Linked DNA regions of Homo sapiens: region 2 is linked to region 1. The links are contacts of gene promoters, found by promoter capture Hi-C in blood cells and fetal thymus (Javierre and others, 2016). All regions are on one chromosome and are shown on one strand. Each heading gives the region's core, a stretch centred on a gene start or on the middle of the fragment in contact. The rest is flanking DNA. Distances are from core to core; before and after follow the strand shown. Region 1 holds the start of SLC5A1 (solute carrier family 5 member 1). Region 2 overlaps RFPL3S (RFPL3 antisense).

What was found. Contacts are between HindIII fragments. The CHiCAGO score rates a contact against its expected background, and 5 or more counts as called.
Region 2: a contact is called between a fragment that was not itself captured here and the fragment with the promoter of SLC5A1 in region 1, in 2 of 17 cell types (M1 macrophages and M2 macrophages). The highest score is 5.8, in M1 macrophages.

What each region holds. Positions count from the first base shown.
Region 1 is chr22:32,041,839-32,045,211 of GRCh38, forward strand. It overlaps SLC5A1 (solute carrier family 5 member 1), which reads left to right and starts at 1,423. Exons shown (of 15, transcript NM_000343.4): 1 at 1,423-1,578. The coding sequence starts at 1,444. The HindIII fragment of the contact is 8,724 bases long and covers 1-3,373 here.
Region 2 is chr22:32,365,249-32,368,802 of GRCh38, forward strand. It overlaps RFPL3S (RFPL3 antisense), which reads right to left. Exons shown (of 5, transcript NR_104232.1): 3 at 3,249-3,319; 4 at 2,442-2,466. Among named protein-coding and RNA genes, the nearest start is that of RFPL3S, 4.2 kb to the right of the region's middle. The HindIII fragment of the contact is 1,636 bases long and covers 496-2,131 here.

The DNA of each region.
Region 1 (3,373 bases), core at 173-2,672:
GAGGCATCCACAGCAGACAGCCCCTGCTTTCAGGTTCCTCGTAAGAATTCCTGCTTCCTTTGGGCAGGCATTATACTGGCCCCAGGACATAGCCTTATATAGTTTGCAGTCCTGGGGGATGTGTGGGGGAAATGGGGAAGACCTGTGGGGATGCTGTCCAAATAATGATTCTTTGTCTGCAGCTTCAGTGGGAAGAACAGTTGCTGATACGGAAGGAGGGGAGGCAGACCTCTGAAGCATTGAGTGCAAAGGAACAGGATGCTCACATTTAGGCAGTGGGTGGTTGTCTAGCAGTGGGCAGGGAGGGCCTGAGGCAGACCAGAGTCCTGGCAGGGTTTCTGTGGTCCTCTGCCTCCCTGCACCTCCCCATCAGAGCAAGGCCCCCCTCTTTGGGAACAGTCACTTTTGGCTGCTCTGTGGCCTCTAGAGCCAGCCCCTGAGAATACCCCACAGCCCTCCCTCTGAACCCTGGCATGGGCTGCAGGGCCAGCTCTGCTGCTGGTTTCCTGTATGACCTTGGGCAAGTCATGCCTCCTCTCTTGGTCATCTCTGTTCTGAGCCCTGGCTTGCTGTTTAGACATGTGTTTCCAGATGGGTGAGCTGAGTCCCCAGGAAGGTCAGGGTTTGATGAACTCCTTGGAAAGGGTTCTCTAGTATCTTCCCTTCTGCTGCCTCTGGAGGGCCCTGCATCAATACTGGGAGAGGGACAGGGCAAGGAAATAGCTCCCGGTGAGATCCCTTCCCCCAGTCTCAGTTTCTTCCTCTTTACAGTGGGGGTAACAGTGGACCTGGGGGCTGCAGGCTGTGGAGGGGGAGTCAGGAATGTGGGTGGGTGGGTGGCTGTCCTTGTGGCCAAGAGATTAGGATTGTGCTGGTTTTTTTCCAGTGACACCCAGCAACTCTCTGTCCTCTCAAGAATGTTCTCCAGGGAGAACAAGACTTGACTGATTCTTCAGAAGAGTGCTGCACCCATTTTACAAGCGGACAAGCCAAGTCCTTAGAAGGCATGGGACTAGTCCAAGGATGGGTGGCAGGTGATCTGAAGCCTCTAGGCTCCTAGCCCCAGGTGGCCTGTTCCCTCAATGGAGCCACTCCAGCTCTGGCAAGGGCAGGTGTGGTGGCGCTGCTGGTGCCTGCTGTGGGAGTACAGTGGGCCTTTGTGCCAGGCGGGCACCACCCCCTGGCTGGCCCCTCCCCATTCGCAGGACAGCTCTTACCTGCCGGGCCGCCGCCCCAGCCAACAGCTCAGCCGGGTGCTCCTTCCTGGGCTCCACGCCCGGAGCTGCTTCCTGACGGTGCAGCCGCAAGGCATCGCAGGGGCCCCGCGCTACTGCCCTGCTCCCTCAAAGTCCCAGGTCCCCTCCCCTGGTGCTGATCATTAACCAGGAGGCCGTATAAGGAGCTAGCGGCCCTGGCGAGAGGGAAGGACGCAACGCTGCCACCATGGACAGTAGCACCTGGAGCCCCAAGACCACCGCGGTCACCCGGCCTGTTGAGACCCACGAGCTCATTCGCAATGCAGCCGATATCTCCATCATCGTTATCTACTTCGTGGTAGTGATGGCCGTCGGACTGTGGGTATGCAGCGGGTTCTGGGATGCGGGTGGGGAGGGTGCGCACAGAGGAGGAGCAATGGCCTCGCTGAGCTGCAAGGGGCAGTAGGCTTAAGTGTCGGTGGAGGGGAGAGGAAATGACTTGGAAGCACTTTAGAAGCACTCAGAGGCACAGCATGAAGGGAGGAGGGCAAGCAAGGATGAGCAGAAGTGAGAAGGGTGCCCAGGGCAGCCTGCCAGGAAGGACCAAGGAGGATACCTGAGCCTGTGAGCAGAGAAGGAAGGTGGGGGTTTGAAGAGACCGCTGGAAAGTGTAAGGGGCAGGAAAGCGGCTGCTTAGAGCTACAGGGAGGGCTCTGGGGCTTGGGAGATGAGCCTCTAGCAGGTGACTACTGTCCTACCTTTTAGTCATCCAGTTTCAGATGGGAAAGAAATGGTGTGGAGTGGGAAAGCCACAGCCTCTGCCAGCCCCAGAGATGGGGATGCTGAGGTGGCAGACAGAGGGATGCTGACCCATGCCCCACTCCTGGGAGAGGCTAACCCAGAGGCCTTGTGCATGAGGATCCCAGGGGCTGGATCAAGTTAGAGATGAGAAAGATGGGTGGAAAAGGAGGAGGAGGAAGACCTGGGGGTGACCTGGCACTGGGGAGAGGGAAATGTGTGTGTCTCCTTTTGGGACTCTGGGGACACAGCAAACCAGAGAAACTTGTTCTCAGCCACCTGGAACATGGGCATTTCACTTATGACAGACTGTGGCAGGCCCAACAACTAGAGGAGGAGATGTTTTAAAAGTGTGCAGGACCGACTGTGGTGGTTCACTCCTGTAATCCTAGCACTTTGAGAGGCCAAGGTGGGAGGATTGCTTGAGTCCAGGAGTTCGAGATCAGCCTGGGCAACATAGTGAGACTCTGTCTCTACAAAAATAAAAAAAATTACAAAAAATATATAAAATGTTTGCAGATGTTCCAGCCATTCTCGTGATTGTTATGGAGGTGGAGGTGATAAGCCCAGGGAGGCTGCTGTAGCAGCTGGTGATTGTGTTGAACTCTTTTGACTTAGAGGAGAGGAAGGTAGGCATGAACACTTCTGTGGACACAGAGCTTTTTCAGGGACAAAAGGAAGTGTTTTTTTTTTTTTTTCCAAAGGAATTGTAGAAACTAGATGTGGCAGAATGCCTCCCAAGTGTCACATGGGGTCAGTATGGCTGACTTTTCCTCAATACTCTCAGCTTCCCAGACATAGTGGAAACTGACCAACTAGGAGCCAGGATACTCAAGTTCACTACTGGCTTTCACATGGTTCAAATCATGGAACATTGGGTAACTTCCCTCAGCCTCCAGTTTACTCAACTTTAACATAGGTACACTCTTATCTATTCTAATGACTCCCCCATGGTTGTGGTGAGGATACGCAGAGGTGAATCTGAAAGCTGTTTATGGACTCTAGGATTAAAAAAAACTACTATTGTCATTTACCTTCCATGGTATGATCTGGGCTCTGAACAATGTTTATCCTTTTAAGTAAAATGGGCAGCAGTGGTCAGGTGGGTAGTATATTTTTACAAAAGCCACAAGACAGGGAAGGCCAGAATGCTAATCCCCGTTTTACAGAAGAGGAAATTGAAGCCTCATGTGGTTGTGATTTGTCTAAGGTTACAATAGATGAAATTGTTCCTGGAACTCAGATCTCTTGACTCCTGATTTTTTATGGTACCAGGCACTCTGCCACTGTGACTGACTTCCTCCTTCCACCCCACCCCAGCTTATAAGTGCTGGAGCCAAGGTGTGAGCCCGTCATCTGCTGGCTATACAGTACTGCCT
Region 2 (3,554 bases), core at 64-2,563, 320 kb after region 1:
CTGGAAGTGTGTGCCCAGGATTGCCAGTCTTTATTATTTGGTAGAAATAAAAGTAAGTCACATGGTCCTGATATTTACATTTTGAGTTTTAAAAATTTTTATATTGTTTTCATCAAAACTCACTTTAGATATTAATATGTTCATCTTGGTATTTTCTTCTAAATGCTATAAACCTGTGTTTCCCATTATTTGTTTCTCTTAGTGAGCTATATCCTTCTGTGAACCCCTGCTTGCTCTCAGAGGGATCCTAAATACAGAAATGGAGATTTGCATTACTGTTTGGAAAGATCTCATTTTCCGTTCTCAGAGCCTCCTATGTGCCTTAGAGACCACCGTGTCCCTGCTTTAACCCTATGTAATAGAAACAAATAAGATCTTTATTCTCAGAAAATTCAACAGTCTTCAGAGGAACCCACATTCTTACACAACTCTGTCATCCAGGTCTCAGGCAAAGCCCTCATAACTTGGCAAAATTTAAGGTATCACAACTTTACAAGCTTCTATTTGTTATTATAAAGATGTGCCCACTTTTAGTAGAGATTTTAGCAACAGTTGCCTAGTTAATAAAACATAGAAAGTTCTAGAAGAAAGCACATAAAGAACATACTATGTAAAATTTGACCTAAAAATGACCAATCTCACAGGGACACACAGAGCTGAACAACACACACGGGGCTATCGGATGGGGGACGGTGGGAGGAGGGAGGATCAGGAAAAATAACTAATGGGCGCTAGGCTTAAAACCCAGGTGACAAGATAATCTGCACAAGAAATCCCCATGACACAAGTTGACCTATGTAACAAACCTGCACATGCACCCCTGAACTTAACAGTTAAAAAAACTGGTGGGACAAAATGAGATACCATTTCACACCAGTCAGAACGGCTATTACTAAAAAGTCAAAAAACAGCAGATACTGGCAAAGTTGCAGAGAAAAGGGAGCACTTATATACTCTTAGAGACTGTGTAAATTAGTTCAACCATTGTGGAAAGTAGTGTGGTGATTCCTCAAAGAGCTAAAAACAGAAATGTCATTCAACCCAGCCATCCCATTACTGGTTATATGCCCAAAGAAATATAAATCATTGTACCCTAAAGACATCCACACATATGTTCACAGCAGCGCTATTCATAATAGCAAAGACCCAAATGCCCATCAATGACATACTGGATAAAGAAAATGTGGTACATATACACCATGGAATACTATGCAGCCATAAAAGAGAATGAGATGATGTCCTTTGCAGGAACATGGATGGAGCTGGGCGACAGAGTGAGCCTCCATCTCAAAAAAAAAAAAAAAAAAAATTGTGCCGGGCGCGGTGGCTCATGCTTGTAATCCCAGCACTTTGGGAAGCCAAGGCAGGTGGATCATGAGGTCAGGAGATCGAGACCATCCTGGCTAACACGGTGAAACCCCATCTCTACTAAAAATACAAAAAATTAGCCGGGCATGGTGGTGGGCGCCTGTAGTCCCAGCTACTTGGGAAGCTGAGGCAGAAGAATGGTGTGAACCCAGGAGGCGGAGCTTGCAGTGAGCCGAGATCGTGCCACTGCACTCCAGCTTGGGCAACAGAGCAAGACTCCGTCTCAAAAAATAAATAAATAAAAAATAAAATAAAAGTTAAAAAATAAATGACCCGTCTTATTGACTAACCTCACCACGGTCTTATGGATTCAATTAACCTGTTCAATTCTTTTTTGTGTTTACTCCATCAACTTCCTGTGTAACTGCACTCCACAAGGCACATAACCACACTCCACAAGGCACATAAAACCACTGAAGAGAGGAGGCAAATGAGGTCTTTTATCCTCCCCTTCAATTGTCTTACAAAGCTCATGCCTGAGTTTAGAGCATAAGTCATCAGTTTAGTCATAAGTCTTATAACTTCCCAAATGAATGCTTTAACTGCAGCTACAGTACATATCATGTGTTGAGTAGCACTTCTCATGTGCTTTTAAGCAACTCTTTCAATATTGAGAGACAAGATTCAATACTAGGGAAATATTCTATGGTATTACATCATTAATTTTATGTTACAGAGACCATATATTGAAAATGTATAAATAATGAAGTCCAGTCTTACTTTCAATACTGTGTGTAAGTTCATTGAGTGTGCAGACCCCTTAAGCTTGCACTCACCTGTGTGTTAGACACACATTCACAAACACATCACACAGACCTACACATAGACACCTTCTGCCTTGGTGCACACAAATCCACCCCACCTAAAGTGAATATGCCTGTTTCCAGGGATTGCACATAGGTGACAAGAGTTTGTCACCTGAAAAACCAGTTTTAGTTCACCCCAAATTCTCGTTCTTTCCAGGTGTCTTGGATCATGGAGATGGTCTAGATGAAAGTCAGCAATTAAGTTCCACATTTCTTATACATACACTTTTTTTTTTTACACCTGGTGAATGATTCCAGAATACATACCATTTACTGTGTTCCTTGGGGTCACCTGCAATTAGAAGAAAGAAAACACTCTGAGGATGAGATCATACTGTGGGCTGTTTGCACAGGTCTTTCGTTCTCTTAGGGGCTCTTGGTAACCAAGATGGGAAAGAATGTTTAAGTCTAAAGCCCCAACATCTAGAGTAGAGTTCATCTGTAGAAAGCACAATAGCTTTTGTTGAAAAGTATCTTTGTTGGCCGTGCTCAGTGGCTCACGCCTGTAATCCCAGCACTTTGGCAAGCCGAGGGAGGTAGATCACGAGGTCAGGAGATCGAGACCATCCTGGCTAACATGGTGAAACCCTGTCTCTATTAAAAATACAAAAAAAAAAAAAAATTAGCCAGATGTGGTGGCGGGCACCTGTAGTCCCAGCTACTCAGGAGGCTGAGACAGGAGAATGGCGTGAACCCGGGAGGCGGAGCTTGCAGTGAGCCGAGATCGTACCACTGCACTCCAGCCTGGGCTACGCAGCAAGACTCCGTCTCAAAAAAAAAAAAAAATCTTTGTCAAGACCATTTTGAAGTAGCAGTTACAAAATACTTAATCTAAAGTGGAAAGCTTGTTGCAGAGGAAAGTGTCCCCTAACATGCTGTGTGTGACCCAGCCCTGCCAATTCCAGATGTCCTCTTCAATCAGGTGTCAGTGGGTGGGGTGCACCCCTCCATCCCCAAGGAAACATCATCTAACACCTATAACGCACCTGATCATTTTTCTCTATCTGATATCAATTGAAAAATGAAATAACCAAGAAAATTACACACATGTTAGGCAAAGACAGGCTACTTTACCTTGGTAACAGAGAAGGGGTCCTCACTTGCCCACTCTTTGGAATCCACCTTCCATTGATCTTCTGGGGGAACTGAAAGGACACAACATGACTGTCAGTTCATTGGTGGTGACATGAACAAAGGGCTAGAACTTATGGATGTGGTTGGTTAACAAGCATGAATTGAGCTTCTCCTGGGCCATCCTCTTCTATGGACCAAGGAAGGCAGAGAGACGGGCAGAAAGGAAATGAGAAATAGAGCCTTTGTCTTTCCAGGTAATAGCAGATGAAAGCGACACGAAATACTCAAACTTCAAATGAGCAACTA